7 separate regions of the Homo sapiens genome follow, and all the other regions are linked to region 2. Evidence: promoter capture Hi-C in 16 types of primary human blood cells and fetal thymus (Javierre and others, 2016). All regions are on one chromosome and are shown on one strand. Each heading gives the region's core, a stretch centred on a gene start or on the middle of the fragment in contact. The rest is flanking DNA. Distances are from core to core; before and after follow the strand shown.

The links. Contacts are between HindIII fragments. The CHiCAGO score rates a contact against its expected background, and 5 or more counts as called.
Region 1: a fragment that was not itself captured here is called in contact with the fragment with the promoter of TAS2R60 in region 2 in 10 of 17 cell types (neutrophils, megakaryocytes, naive CD4 T cells and 7 more); the score reaches 10.0 in neutrophils.
Region 3: a contact is called between a fragment that was not itself captured here and the fragment with the promoter of TAS2R60 in region 2, in 1 of 17 cell types (neutrophils). The highest score is 5.2, in neutrophils.
Region 4: a fragment that was not itself captured here is called in contact with the fragment with the promoter of TAS2R60 in region 2 in 1 of 17 cell types (neutrophils); the score reaches 7.2 in neutrophils.
Region 5: a fragment that was not itself captured here is called in contact with the fragment with the promoter of TAS2R60 in region 2 in 1 of 17 cell types (neutrophils); the score reaches 9.2 in neutrophils.
Region 6: the fragment with the promoter of OR2F2 here is called in contact with the fragment with the promoter of TAS2R60 in region 2 in 5 of 17 cell types (naive CD8 T cells, total CD4 T cells, activated CD4 T cells and 2 more); the score reaches 6.8 in naive CD8 T cells.
Region 7: a fragment that was not itself captured here is called in contact with the fragment with the promoter of TAS2R60 in region 2 in 1 of 17 cell types (neutrophils); the score reaches 6.0 in neutrophils.

Annotation. Positions count from the first base shown.
Region 1 is chr7:143,847,310-143,850,552 of GRCh38, reverse strand. The region is part of intron 2 of LOC112267988 (a long non-coding RNA gene); the gene reads right to left. Among named protein-coding and RNA genes, the nearest start is that of TCAF1, 53 kb to the left of the region's middle. The HindIII fragment of the contact is 4,388 bases long and covers 1-3,243 here.
Region 2 is chr7:143,442,085-143,445,087 of GRCh38, reverse strand. TAS2R60 (taste 2 receptor member 60) reads right to left here and starts at 1,635. Exons shown (of 1, transcript NM_177437.1): 1 at 679-1,635. The coding sequence starts at 1,635. The coding sequence ends at 679. The region is part of intron 2 of EPHA1-AS1 (EPHA1 antisense RNA 1); the gene reads right to left. The HindIII fragment of the contact is 8,585 bases long and covers 1-3,003 here.
Region 3 is chr7:143,060,098-143,062,999 of GRCh38, reverse strand. It overlaps the pseudogene OR6W1P. Among named protein-coding and RNA genes, the nearest start is that of OR6V1, 9.2 kb to the right of the region's middle. The HindIII fragment of the contact is 2,660 bases long and covers 123-2,782 here.
Region 4 is chr7:143,037,969-143,040,781 of GRCh38, reverse strand. It overlaps LOC105375544 (a long non-coding RNA gene), which reads left to right. Exons shown (of 2, transcript XR_001745395.1): 1 at 1-1,390. Among named protein-coding and RNA genes, the nearest start is that of OR9A2, 12 kb to the right of the region's middle. The HindIII fragment of the contact is 2,578 bases long and covers 106-2,683 here.
Region 5 is chr7:142,998,944-143,002,199 of GRCh38, reverse strand. No RefSeq gene overlaps it. Among named protein-coding and RNA genes, the nearest start is that of OR9A2, 27 kb to the left of the region's middle. The HindIII fragment of the contact is 1,734 bases long and covers 457-2,190 here.
Region 6 is chr7:143,933,668-143,936,482 of GRCh38, reverse strand. It overlaps OR2F2 (olfactory receptor family 2 subfamily F member 2), which reads right to left and starts at 1,250. Exons shown (of 1, transcript NM_001004685.1): 1 at 297-1,250. The coding sequence starts at 1,250. The coding sequence ends at 297. RefSeq lists an enhancer at 402-901. The HindIII fragment of the contact is 1,264 bases long and covers 273-1,536 here.
Region 7 is chr7:143,019,031-143,021,986 of GRCh38, reverse strand. No RefSeq gene overlaps it. Among named protein-coding and RNA genes, the nearest start is that of OR9A2, 6.6 kb to the left of the region's middle. The HindIII fragment of the contact is 3,835 bases long and covers 1-2,956 here.

The DNA.
Region 1 (3,243 bases), core at 520-3,019, 410 kb before region 2:
TTAACTATAGTCACCCTACTGTGCAATAGAACACCAGAACTTATTCCTATCTAACTGAACCTTTGTACCTGTTGACCAGTCTATCCCCATCTCCCCTGCCCCACTACCCTCCCAAGCCTCTGGCAACCACTATTCTACGCTCTGCTGCTATTAAATCAACTTTTTAAATTATAGAATCCACTTTTGTGTGAGATTGTACAGTATTCGTCTTTACATGCCTGGCTTATTTTACTTAACATAATGTCCTCTGGGCCCAATTACGTTGCCACAAATGACAAAATTTCTTTTTATGGTTGAATAGTCTTCCATTGTATATATACACCACATTTTCTTTATCCATTCATCCACTGATGGACACTTAGGTTGATTCCATGCAACTACTGTGAATAATGCTGCAATAAACATGGGAATGCAGATATCTCTTCCACATAACTGATTTTATTTCCTTTGGATATATACTCAGTAGTGGGATTCTGGATCATATGGTACTTCTATTTTTTAACTTTTTTAGGAACCTTCATTCTGTTTTCCATCATTGCTGGACTAATTTACAACAGCATATGAGACTTCCTCTTTCTTCACATCTACCCCAACATTTGTTATTTTTTGTCTTTTTGATAATAGCCATTCTAACTGGACTGAGGTGATATGTCATTATGGTTTTATTTGCATTTCCCTGATGATTAGTGATGCTAAGCATTAGTATGTCTTCTTTAGAGAAATGTCTATTTAGGCATTTTGCCCATCTTTAAATGGAATTATTTATTTTTCTGCTATTGAGTTATTTTTCTATATATTCTAGGCATTAACCCCTTGTCAGATGCATAGTTTGCATATGTTTTCTCCCATTCCTTAAGTTAACTTCAATCTGTTTCCTTTGCTGTACAGAAGCATTTTAGTTTAATATAGTACCATTTCTCTATATTTGCTTTTGTTGTATGCTTTTGAGGTCTTATTCAAAAAATTCTTGCCGAGACCAATGTCATGAATTGTTTCTCCCATGTTTTCTTCTAGGATGCTTACAGTTTCAGGTCTTACATTAAAGTTTTTAATCAATTTTGAACTAATTTTTACATATGGTAAGAGACAGGGGTCTAATTTTATTCTTCTACATGTGGATATTCAGTTTTCCCAGTGCCATCTATTGAAAAGCCTCTCCTTTTCCTAATGCATGTTGCTGACACTTTTGTTGAAAATCAGTTGGCTGTAAGTGCATGGATTTATTTCTGTTCTGTATTCTGTTTCAGTTATCTATGTGTCTATTTTTATACCAGTACCATGTTGATTTGGTTACTATAGCTTTATAGTATATTTTAAAGTCAGGTAGTGTGATGCCTCGAGCTTTATTTTTGCTAAGGATTACTTTGGCTATTTGGGGTCTTTTGTGGTTCCATAGAAGTTTTAGGATTTTTTTTTCTATTTCTGTGAAGAATAGGGATTGCATTGAATTAGTAAATTGCTTTGGATAATATGGACATTTTGACAATATTAATTTTTGCAATTCATTATTATCTTTCTATTTATTTGTGTCCTCTTCAATTTATTTTATCCATATTCTATAGTTTCCACTCAAGATGTTTCACCTCCTTTGTTAACTATATTCCTGGGTATTTATTTTATAGCTATTGTCAGTGGATTGCTTTCTTGATATCTTTTTTTAGGTAGCTTGCTACTGGCATATAGAAACACTACTGATTTTTGCATGTTGAGTTTGTATCCTGCAACTTTATTGAATTTATTTATTCTAACAGTTTTTTGTGGAATCTTTAGGATTTTCTATATATAAGATAATGTCATCTGCAAACAAGGACAATTTGACTTCCCCCTTTCCTATTTGGATGCCTTTCATTTCTCTTGCCTAATTGCTCTGGCTTGGATTTCCAGTAGTATGTTCAACAAAAGTGATAAATGCGGCATCCTTGTCTTATTGCAGATCATAGAGGAATAGCTTTCAACTTCTTCAGTATGATGTTATCTATGAGCTTCTCATTTATGGCCTTTATTGTGTTGAGGTATATTACTTCTACATCTCATTTGCTGAGAATTTTTATCATGAAGGGATGTTAAATTTTATCAAATTTTTTTCTTTGTCTATTAAAATGATTATGTCATTTTTGTCCTTCATTCTGTTAATGTGATGTATCACATTTGTGATTTACATATGTTAAACCATCCTTGCATCCCTGGGATGAATCTCACTTGATTGTGGTGAATTATTTTTTCAATATGCTGTTGAATTTGTTTCACTTATATTTTGTTAAAGATTTTTGCATCTATGTTGATAAAGGAGATTGGCCTGTAGTTTTCTTTTTATCAAGTTATCCTTGTCTGGTTTTGATAATGTTGGCCTCATAGAATGAGTGTGGAAGAATTTGCACCTCTTCAACTTTTTAGAATAGTTTGAAAAGAAGTGATATTATTATTTACATGTTTGGTAGAACTTAGCAGTAAAGTCATCAGTTCCTGGGCTTTTCTTTGACGGGAGACTTATTATTACTGATTCATTCTTGTTACACATTATTGGCCTGTGTAGGTATTTTATTTCTTCATAGTAGTTCAACTTTGGTAGGTTGCATGTGTCCAGGAATTTATTTATTTCTTTTAGGTTTTCCAGTTTATTGGCATATAATTGCTCATAAAAGTCTTCTATGATCCTTTGTATTTCTGTGACATCTCCTTTTTTAGCTCTGATTATATTTATTTGAGTCTTCTCTTTTTTGTTAGTCTAGCTAAAACATTTGTTTATCTTTCAAAGGACCAACTTTTTGTTCTACTGATTTTTATATTATTTTCAGGCTCTATTTCACTTATTTCTGCTTGATCTTTATCAGTCTTCTCTTCTAGTAGTTTAGGGTTCAGCTGGCCCTCGTTTTTCTCATTCCTTGAGGTGCCACATAAAGTTTTTATAAAAGATTCTTATACTTTTTTGATGTAGGCATCTATTGCTATAAACTCCCTCTTAGAATAGCTTTTGCTGTATCCCATAGGTCTTGGTACATTATGTTTCCTTTTATTTGTCTCAAGGAATTTTTAAATTTTCTTTTTAATTTCTTTATTGATGCCCTGGTTTTGTAAAAACTTGTTTTTAGTTTTCACATATTCGTATATGTTCCATAGTTCCTCTTGGTATTCATTTCTAGTTTTTATTGCATTGTGGTAAGAGAAGATACTTGATAAGATTTTGATTTTTTTGATTGCTTGAGATATGTTTTGTGGACTAACATATATTCTATCGTGGAGAAA
Region 2 (3,003 bases), core at 386-2,885:
ACAGAGGAGACTAACAGGCTGGGCTATTATAGAGAACATGAACCACATACAAATCATAGACCCCTGGCACTCAGAGGGATCTCCAAAGGTCATCGGAGAATACACACATCCCTGGCAACACACACTGCCACACACATGCACCAATTACACTATGCTCTGTGTAGAAGGTTTAGACACCAGAAACTCTTCCATGGAAAGAAGGAGAGAGGCACCACATTAGATGGCCAGAAAACTTTGAATTGATGAGAAGGGAAAGGTGGTTCACAGGACAAAGCCTGAGAAAACTGCAGTTCCAAAAACATGCCCCAGTTCGATTGAACAGATAAAATATTGCATGAAGTTTGAGGATCTTTGCATCCAGTTCCCAGAATGATTATTTTAAATACGAAGAGATCGATCACAGGAAAAATAAAGGCTTCTGGATTCTTTGACCACATCAGGTCCCACAGGAACCATGGCCACATGAACTATGCACTTGGTGAGTACATAACATGACACTAGCCCATATTTCAGGACCTTTACTCTCACCTTGTATCCTATTTCATTGAAGTTATTTTTCTAATCATTAACTGTAGCAACAGAGAGAAAACATTCAATGTGGCAAAGAGAGAAGCTATGTCCCTTTGAGTCCATGCCTTCTCCACAAGAATCTCCTTGAAGTTTTTCATCAGCTGTGGCTCAAGGTGTCCCACACCTTGAGGAACGACGACTCTTCAGCACAGCTCTCAGCCTGCAGTTGCTGAAGAGCAGAATGATGGGGTGAACTGCTGCACACAGATAAATCACTGACTCCCACACCCAGAATTTAAAGTCCAGAGGTGGAAAAATACCTGCAGCACTGAACACCAGTGACAGGAAATATGAGATGAAGAGCATGGCAAAAGAGAGGAGAGCCAGCAGAGCCTTTATGTGTGCCTGCACACTGGGCTCTCGGAATCCTGAGGTTGTAAGGAGAGCCTTCTTCCTGTGTCTTCCCAGAGATGTGATGAGCAAAATCATGCAAATGAAAAAGACAGCAGTGGGCATTGTCCAAGTAATCATTTTTAGAGGGAAGAGATAGAATTTCTCACAGTAGCTCCGTATGCTATCGCCAGTGACATTCCAAGGTTGTAGATGGTTCCTTAAATAGTTCTGATACATTCTGTGGTTGCCTATGAAAAATAGAATGGTGGTGAAGCTGGAGAGCCCTACAGAGCTGAAGAGCATCCATGGTAGCCACCCAGACAACTTGTGCTTTAGCCAGAAGAAGACAGGGTGGGTGAAGGTAGCAATTTTCACACAATAGAAGACACTGAGCCAGGTAGAGGACCATAAGGTGGCAGCATTCAGGAAGTCCCACTGGAAAGCTAGAAACTGCAGTACAGGGTTGTATGGGAAGGCCATCGGATGCAAGAAAACATAAATGGTCTTACCCATTACCACTGACTGCAGACAGAAGCGAGAGGCCCCTAGGCTAACCAATAACTTATCACAAGGCAACAACATTCTCCGTAGCACCCACTCCACGCCCAGAGCAGCAGTGATGAAGCCATTGCCTGCTATTGCTACCAGGCGTAAAAGGAGTAAAATGGTAACCAAGATGATGGCCTTCTTGTCAGTCACCGAAGATCCTAGAACCATGTGGTCTCCATTCATCTCTCTGGTGGACAAGATGGGTCCCAAAACTTCAAGGGCTATCTCTGTTGGGTTGCTCTGGAAGGTCCTGTAGGATATGTTTGTCCCTCCAGCTGCCCCAAGCGCAGAAGCTAGGCCAGAGTAGAGGACGCAGGCTATCAGAGGAGGGTGAGAGGTTTTTTCTTCTCAGAGTAGATGCAAATATTGTCAAGGCTCAATTTTCAAAGTCCCCATACCTGCCCAAAAATTTGCCTGCTCTTCTGCCTATTCTCTGCCCATGTCAACATCAAAGTGGATAATATATCAGGCCCTGGCATTTAGTGTCCTTACACAGGAGGTTATACTTCTCTAAGCGGACACCTATGACAGGACCATGCACCTGCCAGCTCAGTAGTATCATCCGTGGGGCACACCCGCTACTGAGACAGCGCTCACATCCACGGGGGGGGGGTGATTGTTATGTTGCAGGCATTGTTCTGAGTGCTCTCCTTAGTTCTCACAACAACTCTATGCGGGGAGTAGTATGGCAAGACCCCTTTAACTGAGACAGAGAGAAAACTGAGCAAACCTTTACAGAGAAGGATTAATTCAAGTCTTATTACTCACAGTGACCATCATCATAAAAAAAGAACACTGGAGACAATTATACATAATGAGGCAGGCAACTTTTTTCAAAATTTAAAAATATATATTTGATAACTGGTGGCCTCTAAAATAGCACTTCACAGAGGAACCCCCAGTAGCGATAAGCCAATGGGATATGGCAGAATGAGCCCTGTGCTAGGAGTCGAGACAGCCTTTAGTCCAAACTTTACCCCTTACTGTGAGTTGCTGGATATGTCAGCCCCTCTGCGCCTCATTTTGTCCATCTGTAAAATATGAAAAGTATCCTATGTTCTAATTCACAAAGATGTCTTAGAATCTCGGCTTAGAATGAAAGAAGACATGAAAGATAATCTTACAGATAAAAGAAATAAGACCCCAAATTATATATTACAACTCCCACCTAAAGTCACAGTTACACAGAGGAAAGACCAAGATCCAAACTGATTCCAGGACCAGGAATCTCTGCCATGGTTAGCAATACATGTTACACCTCCATCTTCTTCATCCCTAGCTGAACTCAGAAGCCCAAGTTTTGAGTCTTGTCACAATCACTACGGATCCTCAAGCAGTTAACCTCTCTGAACACCCCCCTTTCTTCACCTATAAAAAATATGGGTCACAAATAAATATGACCATAAATATGGTAAATATATTGGAAATTATAAACCTCTGCATATGGACAAGGAGCAATGATGATGATGACAATTACTTTATTAGAATGGCTATCTTCTATTCCATCCATCCTGTGGCATAATAAGTAGCATAAGGAGAATTCAGGAGAGC
Region 3 (2,902 bases), core at 203-2,702, 380 kb after region 2:
GCCTGTTGGGTGGTTGGTTTCCTCTCCATTGTCTCTCCCACACTGCAGAAAACACGACTCTGGTTCTGTGGCCCTAACATCATCGGCCACTACTTCTGTGACTCTGCCCCGCTGCTCAAGCTTGCCTGCTCTGACACCCGCCACATTGAGCGCATGGACCTCTTCCTGTCCCTGCTCTTTGTGCTGACCACCATGCTGCTTATCATCCTCTCCTACATCCTCATTGTGGCTGCAGTGCTGCACATCCCTTCCTCCTCTGGATGCCAGAAGGCCTTCTCCACCTGTGCCTCTCACCTCACAGTGGTGGTTCTGGGCTATGGCAGTGCCATCTTCATCTACGTGAGGCCAGGCAAGGGCCACTCCACATACCTCAACAAGGCGGTGGCCATGGTGACTGCAATGGTAACCCCTTTCCTCAACCCCTTCATCTTCACCTTCCGGAATGAGAAGGTCAAGGAGGTCATTGAGGATGTGACTAAAAGGATCTTCCTTGGAGACCCAGCAGCCTGTAGGTGAGAGGGTGAGCCCTTGACAGGGCTAGAGAGCACCTGACAAGTCACGAGGAGTAGACTTGCTGCAGGTGGGCACCCACATGCCTAAGCTGGAGCTCCTCACTCTCTTTTTTCTCATTTTCTCCTGGTCCCTCATCTTCATGCAAGTTTCTTCTCCTGCACTGCAGAGAACTAATGGACACACATTGGTAGAATGTCTCAAAGGCAAGTTTCTGTGCACCTGGGATAGTTAAGGAATGGATAGGGAATGCAGAGTGAGTACAATGGGACGGTCTTAATTAAAAGAGATAATCCAAACAAATAAGGCTCTTAGTGCAGGGTCTGGCACATTAAGTAAGAGCTCAGTAAATGTAGCTATTATTAAAATGTCCTATTAAAACCTTTCTTTCTTAGCTCTGTGGTTTTGCTTGCATTCTTTTAAGTTTCCTTTATTTTGGATGTGTTTCCTTTTCAGGACCTGGCTTCAAGGTCTATGATAGAGTTCTGAAAATGGGAGGTGCTCTAAGAAGAGCAGAGAGGCCTGGCACCCCAACACAGGAGGAGCCATGTGCTTCTGTTGGCTCCCCTCTCTCGGCCTGACCGCTCCTGGATGGAAGCACCCCTCACACCCAGGCTGCCCACTTCTTCCATCTGGCCCCAAAGCCTCTTGCCTTTCCACAGAAATGGCTCTCTGGGAGCCACTCCTCCAACCCTCTTATAGAAAGTCATGAAGACCTTACCTTTTTCATGCACTTGAGAGTGGGGGAAAGCTGAGCTGCGTCTGCACTCTCAGACTTGCTGCCTTCCCCTTCCCGTGGGGCCACTACTTCCCTTCTACTGCAGAATCTTAGATCCAAGTTCCAGAAGAAGGACCAGTTGCCCAGGCCTTCTGAGGCTGGGTTTCCTGAGAGCAGCCTGGCCAGATTACCAGGGCCCCTGGATGGTAGAAGCAAAGGTGGTAGAAATCAGATGAGAAGGAGTAAACGGAGTGGGACTGGTGTTGTAGGTAACGTGGTGGGAGGGCTGATAAGAGAGGCATTCCTCGGAAATCTGGATGGCGTGAGAAGTCATGGGAAGATGGTAGGGGCAGGAAGAGATCCGGGTCTGGTTTCTTTTACTAGACTGAGTCTCAGCTGGGCTGGGCTAGGATTAGCAAAGCGGGGCAAAGAGTAGATGCAAACTTCCTCTCATTTCTGAAGCTGGTTCTGTCCACAGGATCCCTAGAGGAGAGGCCCTGCTCATAACTTGCAGTGTGGTGTCACAGTGTGGGAGCCACCCCACAGGGCCAAGACTATGAAGAATGGTTTCAGGGGAAGCCTTCCAGGACACAGAGCTTGGAGGCACCACTGTCTTACTGTCTCTGCCATTTAGCTTGATCTCTAACATAGCTCTTTTTCTTTTTCAACCCCCACAGTACATTTTTGCATTTGTGGGCCTTGCCAAAAGTGGGCAGATACTTCTGATTCTGCTGTAAAGACCAGCAGGGAAAAGTTTTTCATCCTGAGAACTTGTCTCTTTCACCTCCCAAGAGACTAATTACTTGCCCTCCTTGCAAACTTCCTGAAAAACTGAAGAGCTAAGTGGAAAGTAATTATCTCCTTCTGAGATGCAGATACTTTTCCTCAGCTTCTCCTCCTAAAATAATCAGCACAGGAGTCACTCAGTGTCCTCCCCAGGGACTCCTTCCTGCTACTCGCTCTTCTCTGCACATTCCCCCTCTTAAAAAACTAAAAATAATCAATAGCCTATAGCGGGCTATCTCCTGTTTTTCATAGGATTTCCTTGGAAGTGGGGTCTCTGGTCAGTTTTGGGGACGGTCTGACTAGCTTTGGGCCTTCATAGCAATCACCCCATGGAATCCAGCATCATGCAGCCTGACCTGCCCCACAGCCTTGCCTGTGGTTCTTTGCTCTTCAAAGTGTGATGCTTGAAACAGCACTGGCATCTCCTGGGAGCTTATTGGAGATGCAGAATCTCAGGCCCCACCTGAGACCTCCTAAATCAGAATCTGCATTTTTGCAGATCCCCGGGTGATTCCTATGCACGTTAATATCTGAGTAACGCTGAGCTAGACAATTTGCTGGTAGAGTTTTCAAACAATAAATTGTATAAGAAAGGCCTTGTTCCAATCTCAACAACGTGAAGGGCATTGGAAGAGGGAATTTGGGGACACATTTGCTATTGTTGGATCCATCATTCCTTAGTGACCTTTATCCCAGGTCCCATTTCCGGAGACAGTAGTAACCAGGATGAAGACCCTGAAGACTCTCATCCTAGTCTGACTTTAAGCTTCTTGAGTGACTTCAATCAATGGCCCAGCCTCTGACTCACTGTTAGAATTCTATGTGGATGTCACCTAGAGATGTCTAGATATATTGGTTCCAGACATTTGTCTTAATGTGGCAGGGATG
Region 4 (2,813 bases), core at 145-2,644, 400 kb after region 2:
CTGACAAGAGCAAGCTAAGTTTGTTTAGCAATGCTCTTCTCCAGCCCTTTCCTGCTGTCTGGCCTCACTATCCCAGTGTTACAGGATGGAGGAGAGTCTGAAGCTTCAGGATCCCCAGCTGTGAGGTCCCCTTCCCCCTTTCTCCACTGCTCAGTCCCAAGGGGCTGTGTCTCCCTGGCACTCCAGCAACCATCCCAGACACTGACGTTGTCATAAACTGCACACTTACGCTCATGGATCCTCTTCATCATGTCCAGAGGCACATTTACTTATCATTATTGATAAGGACATGCCACACTCATTGCTGAGGTATTTATTGAGCTTTTACTGTGTTCCAGTATGTAACTTATTCACCTTAAAGCATCTGTCTTTGATTATAAGACTGCTGATCTTCAAAAGCACATTTGTGAGTCTCAGAATCTCAGGGTTGCCAGGATTCTTGAAGGTCACTCCACTCAACCTACTGGTGCTTCATTCCCTGCTGACAACAGCTGACTGCCTCCTGTAGAAGGGTGGTCTAGGAGTTCCCGGTCACTCATGTCAACTCAGCTAGTAAACTGCAGCATGACCTTAACAAGTCACTCGATTTCTGAGTTTCAGGCTTACAATATGTAAAACGAAGTGTTGGAAAACATTATCTTTCCATTGCTGATATTCTTTGGCCCTTATTAATATCATAGTCATTCTAATCTCTTGTTTCTCCACATCCAAATATGGATGCCCTCTGTGTCCCAACCCAGATAGAGGAGGAGGTATTTTTTTTTTGCCATGGCAGGCCTCTAAGTTTGTTTTTTGGGGGCTCTCTCTCTCTTCTCCCTTCCTTGTCACCACCTTCCCTTTGTCCTAGAAATATGTATTACATTCACAGAATATCTGGAAAAACCAAAACCCTGGATCTATACCTTATGCTTCCAAAAAATAATAAATTCCCGATGGCTCAAACAGACTTAAATGTAAAAAGTAAAAAATGGGATTTTTTGGTTTGTTTTTAATTTCCTTGGAGTATGAACATAGGCTTTTCAAAGGAAAACACGGATCCCGGGAGTCTAAAAGACTGTTAAGTGTAACTGCCTAAGGATGAAATATTTATGCAAGATAGAAACAAAACATAAAAACAGAAACATGAAATAAAGATTTGTTTGATTTATGCAAAATGTTCTCTTACAAACCTGTACATTCATTAAAGAAAACTGCAAATGATTTTTTAAACATGAAAAGAACTCAATCTCACTGTAAATTAAAAAAACAAACTTTAATAAGAATTGTTTTTGAATAACTGTTATTTTTTAGACAATGTACTGAAGATACAGCAGTAAACAGAGTGGACATGGTCTCCCCACTATGGAGCATATTTGATGAAGACCGATGTTACCATACGCTATAAAACCAGGTAAACACACACACACACACACACACACACACACACACTTACAAAATAGTGAGTTGTTTTGAGCAAGAAACTACGTGGTTGTCTTAGATCTGGGAGTGATGAGGGAGAAGATGTTTGGACAGACCTGTGATGAGGTCACAACAGAGGCTTAAATCCTACGGGGAGCTCTGAGCTAGGACGGCTTTCCAGAGTTGTCCTGAATTGTGCCCAGAGTTGTCCTGAACAGAAACTTGGGGCCTGGGCATTATACTTCTGCATCCATAGGCCATTGGATGCAGGCTACCTTAGAGGAAGGGCTATAATCTTGGGGAAGGTGTTTCTCTTTGATTGGGAGCAATTTGGGGGTAATTAGCATCTTGGTTCTGAATGGGAGTCCGGGCAGCGCACTGCAGCATTTACTGTAATATCTGGAAAGCCCCTGGCAGGGAACCTGAACATGGATATGTCTGTGAGGTTATGGGAAGCATCTATAGGAGTAATCATTAACTGGTATCTGGTGCTAACTAGGCACAGCATGGTGGGAATCACAATGAGCACTCTGAGAGATGGAGCAGCGTGCCATTACAGGAGCACAAAGGATGTCAGTGTCACTGAGCAGAGGAGTGACACAAGATGACATTAGAGAAAGGTATTTCTAGAAATCATGCAGAGCCTCACAGGTCTCAGGACTTTAACCAAATGGCAGAGAGAAAGGTTTTAATCCGGGGAGAGACCTGATCTAGTCTGTGTTTTAAAGGATCACGCAGGCTGCTATGGGGAGAACAGAGTAGACAGAGGGAAGCGAGGGTAGATGTGAAGGTCAGTTAGGAAGTTTTGTGGCAGGTCAGTAAGGTTTGTTCCTTCTCATTTCCTGTTTTGTGGGTAATGTCTCTGCCACTGGGGTAATAATCCTATCTCTAATAACATACATTATTAATGCAACCCTATATAGTGGATAGGTAATAACCCTATCTGTTCTACTAGTTTGCCAGAATGTCCTTTTCTTTCTCTGGGCCATGATGACTTCTCTTACCTGTGTCCGAGTATACTTATGTGGGAAAGTCAAACATAGACATGGAATGGCCTTGAGCTTAAGGATATTCAGCAAACACTTCTACTCACTTGTAAAATCATTAATCTAGGATAAGTTTATGTACTAGATCTGGTGTGGACTGTAATGGCCCATGATGTTATCTAGAGAGAACTGATTCAGACAAAAATGTTAGCTTTGTGGAGGAGTTCCATCCAAAGAGTCATGAGTGGAGAGTCCTCATGTTGGACTGAGAGGCTCAGGTCACCATTAAGAAGAAAGCTTGAAAACTAGCTCCATGGCTGGGCGCGGTGGCTCACGCCTATAATCCCAGCACTTTGGGAGGCCGAGGCGGGCGGATCACAAGGTCAGGAGATCGAGACCATCTTGGCTAACACGGTGAAACCCCGTCTC
Region 5 (3,256 bases), core at 74-2,573, 440 kb after region 2:
CCATACCCCTATCTTTTTTAGGCCCTCTTTCCAGAGTTTAACAGCTGCCTGAGCTCCTGGTGAGAGGATGGACCAATCTAAAATAAATAATAACACACATACCCTTTGTCTTATGTAATGACAGATCTTCAATTTAAATTTATGTACTGCATCTCTATGTAAACTAATTAAAATTTCTGGCATGTTAGCCTATGCAATTAGACAAGAGAAAAAAAATGCAGGGCCAAGATGTTAAAAAGGAGGAGAAAAAAAGATTAACATGAATTTTAAATAATTTGTTTATCTGGAAATCTCAACAAAATAAAGTAAAAAACCAATGTGGCTGGGCACAAAATTTATATTGAGAGTCAAAAGACTTCACATATAAAACACATTAAGTTAGAAAATATAATGGAAGGAAAGAACCTCATTTACAAAAGCAAAAGCAAAGAAATATAACATTATTAGGAATAAGCTTAACAAGTAAAGATTTACATTTAAACTAGATTGACATTTAAAAAAATGCTCCTGAAAGACACAAAAGTAGATTTGAGCAAATGGAAAGGTGGAGTAAACAATACAAAGATATCAATTCTCCTCTAAGTGTATCCATAAAAATGATACAATCACAATTTAAAAATCAATAGTATTTTTTAAATCTAGAGAAGCAGATTACATTTTATTCATGCATTATTTCATTCATTTATATTTTTAGAGACAGAGTCTTGCTCTGTCAGCCAGGCTGGAGTGTAGTGGCATGATCATAGCTCACTACAGACTTGAACTGCTGGACTCAAGTGATCCTCCCACCTCAGCCGCCTGAATAGCTGGGATTACACATGTGAGCCATCGTGCCCAGCTTAGATTAAACTTTTTATTATGGAAAAATAAACAAGCAAAAAATTTTCAAAAACATTCTGAAATAGAAGCATAATGAGGAATAACTACATCTGTAAAACAGACTATATAGCTATAATGTAAACAGTACTATCATTGGGAAAAAATGAATTATTCAATAAATGGTCAAACAAACTAGCAGCTACCTAAAAAACAAAAGTTAATTCCATTACTGCCTATGTCATACCAGGCTGTTTAAAATGGGTCAAATATTTAAATGTAAAAAAAAAACATAGATTTAACATAAGAAATAAAAGAATGTTTATAAAAATGGGTAAGACCTTTCTTAGGATGACTTAAAACACAGATGTCATAGAAGATTGACTTTATGAAGAATTTTTTAAAAATTTGCTATGGTTAATACTACCCCAAGGTAAACAGACACACGAAAACACCAGAAAACAATTTCAACTCATATCACAAAAGGTTAGTTTGCATCATGTGTAAAAAGCTCCTATAAGAAAAAAATAAAACTACTCAGCAGAAAAATGGGCAAAAGATAAGCACATGTGAGAATATTTTCATCTTCATTCATAAGGAGAACAATAAAAATTAAAGCCATATTAAGATACTATTTTCAGTTATTAAACTGGCAAATGTCAAAAAGTTTTATAGTACACTGCGTGAAAATAGGTAGTGTAAAATGTAATAGCCTGCATGAAGGGCAATTATGTAATATATATTAAAGTGACAAATGCTTTTACGCTTTGGCCTAGCAATTCCTCTTCTAGAAATTGTCATTTAGATATTGTGTACAGGGAAATAATGTATGTATTCCATTTGGTGGAATAATCTGGAGTTATTAAAAAAGGAAACAAGAACCAAGAATGTCTTATGTATAAATATACAATGATCTGTACTGCATAGGACATATGTTCGATATACTACCATTTGTACAAAAAGAAAATGTGCTTGTATGCATTTGCTTATGCAGACGTATATGCTTAAAATTACCTCTGTAAAGACACAGAAGAAAGTGATAACATTGGTTGCCTTGAGGGAGGAGGATCAGATAGAAAAGTGTTTCAAAGTATCCTTTAAAATTTTGAACCATGGAAGTATATTATGCTTTGATGCTTTAATATTTGAATATAGTTATATCTTCTTTTGATATTCTGGCACTTTTAAAAACATCTGTATTTGGGGTACTATATGATCCTGATTCTCTAAGTGTTATAATTAACATATATATCTTATTAATCCAAAACTCAACTATGTAGTCTTTCTAGAACATAGCTAGGAATCAGAAAATAGCAAAATAAACCAGCAAGCAGACAAAATAAATGTTACAAAGTCCATGAACCACATAAAGCTTAGCCACTTTACTCACAGGAAGTCTGTTAGAGTCCCTTTTATCTGTTTGTTTATTTATTGGAAATAAGCTTGATAAAATGATTTACTCATAGAAAGGAGATAAGAAAAGACAGGTCTACTGAAAACAACAAGCAGTGTGTTAGCTCTCAATCAAGAGACATGTTGAGAGAAATTAAAAACCAACTGTACAAAGCTGACCAAAGGACTTAAGACATTTTTGTTCATTTAGTGCAGGAGCAAACCTTCTCTGAGATCATGTATATATGACAGTGGCATCCTAATGATCGTCTTGAGAAACCAAGAAGACATTCAGGTATGCTCAATAGAATCTATTAAGACTGATTTTCATGCCTAACATTTAAATAAAATATAAAAACTTTTGATGATTAAGTCTAAAACTTAGAGTCTCTGGAAAATGGAATAACACATTTCAGGTTGGTGGTGTTTTGGAGTATATTTTTAAATGCTTAACTGAAGATATCACCAAATGCCAGAGTAATTGGTCAGAGATTTCTTTTTCTATTGAACACAAATGAAAACATCAGTATCAAAAATTGGCAGTAGATATGCAAAAAGGGAGTCAGGAAAATTATTCTTGTACAAGAAAACAACTTTATAAGAGCTCAGGAGAAACTTCTAACTTTTCTACAGTGGAATGACTCCAACAATCACAGTCAAAATTTAAAGAATGGGTAATATGTTTTAGCAAATAAATGAGAGGAATTGTAGCAGTCATTAATCTAGGACAGGTTAGAATAAAAGAGGTGGTAACATAATGATTAACCATTTAACAGAGTGATTAGGACTATTGCTGGCATACTCTTTGACCCAGCTATCCATTTCCAGGAATTGTTTTTCTAAATGTACTTACACGAGGATGCGAGGGTGCGGAGATATGTACAAAAGGACACATACACCCTTGTTGGAAACACATATATCCCTTGTTGGAAACATATATATCTTTTGCTTTAAAATAATTCAACTTGGCTGGGTGCAGTGGCTCACGCCTATAATTCCAGCAGTTTGGGAGGCCGAGGCGGAAGGAATGCTTATGCTCAGGAGTTTA
Region 6 (2,815 bases), core at 1-2,500, 490 kb before region 2:
ACAGTAAGTAGTACTTTTTTTCAGTTTTTATCAGAACATAAGAGTGGAGATTGAGAAATTGTGGAAGGTTCTGTTACAGCAGTAGCTAACTCCACTAATCATACTGCTGGGATATAAAATTATCCCCACATCCCACACCCCATCCAACTCAACCACTCAGCCTCCTACATAACATCCCCAGTACATGTTACATCATCTCCTTCCCGGTTGCCAGAGCAACATAGTTTATCCCTGCCATATCTGAGCTGGGTGGAGAAAAATGAGGCAAAGCTTCTTCTTAAAGTAATGTTCATGAGTCAAGTTCCCAGCTTGGATGTTAACCCAGAGAATTTCTCTAATAGTTTATGCCAGGCCCCCTTCACCTCTTTATTCCTTAGACTATAAATCACAGGGTTCAGCAGAGGCATAACAATGGCATAGAAGACAGAGATCAGCTTCTCTTGAAGGACTGAGGGACCAGAGTGGGGCTGGATGTAAGTGAAAATCGTTGTGCCGTAGCACAGGGCAACCACCGTGAGGTGAGAGGCACACGTGTGGAAGGCTTTCTTTCTTCCTTCTCTGGACTGGATCTTTAGGATGGTGGAGATGATCCGGATGTAGGACAACAGAACCAGGCAGAAAGGTGTCATCAGAAGAACAATGCTAGACACCATGATGGCAGCCTCATTGGAGGAGGTGTCCACACAAGCCAGCCTGACCACAGCTAGGAGTTCACAGGATATGTGATCAATAAACTTGTTAGTGCACATGGGCAGCTGAAAGGTGATAGCAGTCTGCACAAGAGAGTTGATGGAGCCACTGACCCAGGATGTGATGGCCAACCTAGCACACAGCCCTCCATGCATGATGGCCGAGTATCGCAGGCGGTCAGACACAGCCACATGGCGGTCATAGGCCATCACTGCCAGGAGAACAAACTCAATCCCACCCAAGGCCAGGGAGAAAAATAACTGGGCTGCACAGCTCTGGAATGGGATGGCTTTATGTTCTGCAAGAAAATGTGCCAGCAGCTGGGGGACTACGCTTGTGGCATAGGAGACATCGACAAGGGAGAGGTTGGTGAGAAAGAAATACATGGGAGTGTGGAGTCGGCTGTCCAGTCTGATCAGAAGGACAATGAGACAGTTCCCCAGCACTGTCATGAGGTATGTGACCAAGAACAGGGAAAACAGGGATATCTGAGTGCACCAGTCACTGGATAAGCCAAGGAGAATAAATTCTCTCACCCACGTCTGGTTATCTATTTCCATTTAAAAATGTGAGGAATATTAATCTGTAGAAAGAGTCAGAAAAAAACAGAAGCTGTTGAATCAAAGAATCATAAGAATAACTTCTTAGGAATGCATACTGTATACGACATTCCAGCCTTGGCCAAATATTTTAGATAATTCACAAGGCCAAGATGACAGGCTTGTTTCCAACATACACTATATTTACTTTGCATTAGAGAGACAGTAGTGCTTTCATAAGGACATGATGTGGACTCAAATAAGCCAGTTAAAGCCTGTAGATAATGCAGTGCAATTTTTGGAAGCTTTACCTCTTTACTAGCTTACCTCAGTATCCAGGGCAGGGAGTTTGTTTTCTGATGATGTCAGCAAAAAGGAAGAATAGAAAGTCCCAGGCTCTACTCTTCTCCACAGAACATTCAACTAGCAACTATCCCCAGACCAGAATATCTCTTTTAAAACTCCACTACTTGGACACTAACATGAGACAACCACAAGGTACGTGGAATGAAAATTGAATTAGAAGGCTAAGAAGCATAGTTTCACTTCAACCCTGCCACCTTGCCTCCTGCCAAAGTCAACACAACACCAGACAAAGAGGGTTTTCCTGGGCCCATGGTTTTTACAGGAGGAAAGGAAAACTAGAGGCAGTCATTCAGCATCTCTAGTTTTCCAAGATGCTTCTCAGAAATCCCACTCTGGGCTTATCTCATGGAGAACACTGGGGGTAACAGCATAGCTAGACTACCTGGTGTCAAGTAAAAACAAAGAAAGGAGGCAGAGGTCTTAGTGACCAGCACACAGATCATGGCATTACCTCTGTGTTCTTGCTAGCTGTGGTGCCCAATCTGAGACACTAGTCAACTTCATAGTTCATTTACAAAGCTAAGCTGGTCATCTTCAGAAGCATGGTGGGAAGTACAACCTAGCTTGAGGCCTTAGATAGCTAGTCCCCATGTCCAGTCTCAGAGCCCACACCAGTGACCTCTGCCAAGACAAGGAGATACACACCTCCACCCATTTCAGAAACACACATGAGGTAGACCTGCTTAACCCAGGAAGTCAATCCATGGCTCTACTCAGCTAAAAGGCCCCATCAAGGACATCTACATGCCTTTCAGAGAAGCATGAGGGCTAGAACTGTTTGACCTGGGAAGTCAAACTCAATTCAGCCAAAAGCCCATCTTAAAGGGAAGAAACCCTACAAGGAAGCTCCACCTTAACAGGGAAGCAACCATCAATTGTGTTTTTCTGAGTGTAGCCTCTGGCCTCAATCATTCTAAGCAGCAACTTCTCCTAACTTTGGAGTTCAGCCTACAGCCCTGCCCAACTGCAAATCCCAGAAAGCATAATTTTCCAGCCAGGGAATAAATTCTGTGACTAGTCTGACCAGAAGCCATTGCAGTACGCAGTCAGTAGCTCTGTGTGATAACAGAGCTCAGCCAGTGGTCTTGCCAGACAGCAGGGCCCAGTCAATAGCCCCAGCCAATATCAGAGCAAAGACAGCATCCCAGGCAGGTAGAAAATCCACAGTTAGCTTTGCTTGCCCAGGGCCATTACCAGCTGGCCCTTGAAGAATTACAGGC
Region 7 (2,956 bases), core at 432-2,931, 420 kb after region 2:
CAAAATGGCCATTACTTTTCATATTTCTATCAATATTCTTATCACGACCACCTAAGTAATCTTTTAAAAGTTTCAGATTTTTCTACATTTCTTCTTTTCTTCTGAGTTCTTACCAGAATTTCCCTTAGTGTTCAATTTATGGTAGTCTAGGATTCTTCTAGCCTGCTCTTCTAAATTCCTCCAACCTCTGCTCATTACCCAGCTAAAAGCCACTTCCACATATTCAGGTATTTGTTATAGCAAAAGCCCCACTCTTGGTGCACATTTTCTATCTTAATCTGTTTTTTGTTGTTAGACTAGCACAGGCTAAGTAATTTATAAAGAAAAGAAGTTTATTTGGCTCATGATTTCAGAGGCTGAGAAGTTCAAAGGCATGGTGCTGGCATTGCCAAGGGCCTGCATGCTGTGTCATTCCATGGTGGAAGGCAGAAATGCAAGAGGGAGAGAGAGCAAGAGAGGCTGAACTCTCTTGCCCTCACACGAATTTATTCATGCTCATGAAAATGAATCCACTCCCCCAATAATGACATTAATTTATCCCTGAGAGCATAACCCTCATAACCTAATTACCTCTTAAAAGTTCCACCTCTCAACACTATTACAATGGCCACCAAAGTTCAACATGAGTTTTGAAAGGGACGTGCAAACCATAGCAGTAGGAAACCTAGGAAACTTGTACTATGCATACACTGTGGCCTATTTTTAAGTTTGTTAATTCTTTCTTCAGCTATGTTGAATCTACCAATGAACCTGTGAAAATAATTCCTCATCTCCCATATCGTGGTTTTATTTATAACATTTCCATTATATTCTTTCTTATAGTTTTAAGCTGTCTATCAGAAACCTTTTCTTGTTTATGCATGTTGTCCACCTTTTCAACAACATCATTTAACGTTTTCATTACACATATTATGTTTGCATTAAGTGAATATTTTTTCTATGGCAGTCAACCCTTCATATCCATGGATTCTTCATCTTGGATTCAACCAACTGCAGATAAAAAATATTTGGGAAAAAAAGGTTGGTTGTGTATGTACTGAACATGTACATGCTTTTTAAAAATCATGATTTCCTAAACAATATAGAATAACAACTATTTACCTTGTATTAGGTATTATAAGTAATCTAAAATGATTTAATGTATACAGGATGATGTATGTAGGTTATATGCAAATAGTATACAATTTTATATAAAGAACTTGAGCATCTGTGAATTTTTGTATCTGTGGGGTTCCTCTTTTGGAACCTTGGTTTGAAACCAAGCACCCACAGATACTGAGGGATCACTGTATAACATTTTAAATCCTTTGTTGATTTTTAAATTGTATTTTAAATGAATGCTCTAGAGCTTAACATATATATCTTATCAGATTGGCTTCAGATTTATACTAACAATGCCAGTGAGATATAGGAGCATTACTCCTATATAGCTCTATTCTCTTTTTCCTCCTTTTGTTCTGTTATTGTTGTAATACATAGTTCACCTACTTACAAACTTAACAATATATTGTTATAATTGTTACTTATAATTTTAAAGGAGATGGGAGAAGAAAGGAGAACGTTTGCATATTTCTAGCATTTGTAATGTTAACCTTATTTATTTTTTCTGGTTATCTTCATTTGTTTCTCAGATTCACATTTACATCTGATCTCATTTCATTACTCCAAAACTGTTCTGCTCCTAGCTAACTCTTTTGTGCTATTTTTGGTAAATCTATTACATTTCTTTATGTTTTCCATTCACAAATAAGGTATATACTTATTGTCTTATGTAACTGTTTTTTTAAACTAGTTAAAAGAAGAGAATAAACATGCATTTATGCTTTCTTTTATAATTACTTACTATATATTCCTTATAATTACTTACCATAAAAACTTACTTTTATCAATGCTTTTTATTTTATTTATGTGGATTATAAACACTGTCTGATGTCACTTGCTTTTAGTCTGCAGAAATTCCTTTAGTATTTCTTGTAAGTTTGGTCTGCTAGCAACAAATTCTCTCATTTAGTTTATCTCAGAATTTCTTTCTTCTGCCTTAATTTTTGAAAGATAATTTTGCCAGCTATAGGATTTGTGGTTGACCTTGTTTTTTCTTTCACCACTTGGAATATGTCATCCTGTTCCCTTCTGGTCTCAACTGTTTCTGATGAGAAGTCAGCTGTTAATCTTACTGATTCCATTAGATGTGAGATGTTCCATTAGATGTGAGAAGACACTTTCTCTTGTTGCTTTGAAGATTTTTTTCCTTGTTTCTCAGAGATTTTACTATTATTTGTCTACTGTAGATCTCTTTGTGTTTATTCTACTAGAAGTCTATTGACCTTTGTGGGTGAGTAGATTAATATTTTTCATCGAATTTGAGAAGTTTTCAACCATGATTTCTTCAAATATTTTTTACGTTCTTCTGTATCTCTCCTATCCTTCTGGTACTTCCATTACATGTATATTGGTACACTTAGTGGTATCCCATATTTCTCTGACACTTTTTCATTTTTCTGTATTTCTTTTTTGTCTCTGATCTTTGGATTGCGTGATTTCTATTGACCTATCTTGAAGTTTAATCATTATTTCTTCCATTAGTTACAAAATACAGTTGTGCTCCTCTGGTTAATTTTTTACTTATTGTACTTTCAGACTCTAGAATCTCCATGTGGCCATTTTTATCATTTTGATATTTTTGTTGATATTCTCTACTCAGAGAAACATTATCATCATACTTTTCTTTACTTTTTAAATAAAATCATTTCCTTTAATTCTCTGAACATATTTATAATGTCTACTTTGAATTTAAATGTTAAATATGCCATCTGGTCCCTCTCACATACAGTTTCTATTGTTAGCTTTTCCTCCTGTGTATGAGTCACACTTTCCTGTTTCTTTGCATATCTTGTAATTTTTTGTTGAAAACTACACATTTTAGATATTATATTGTATCACTATGGATACTGTTATC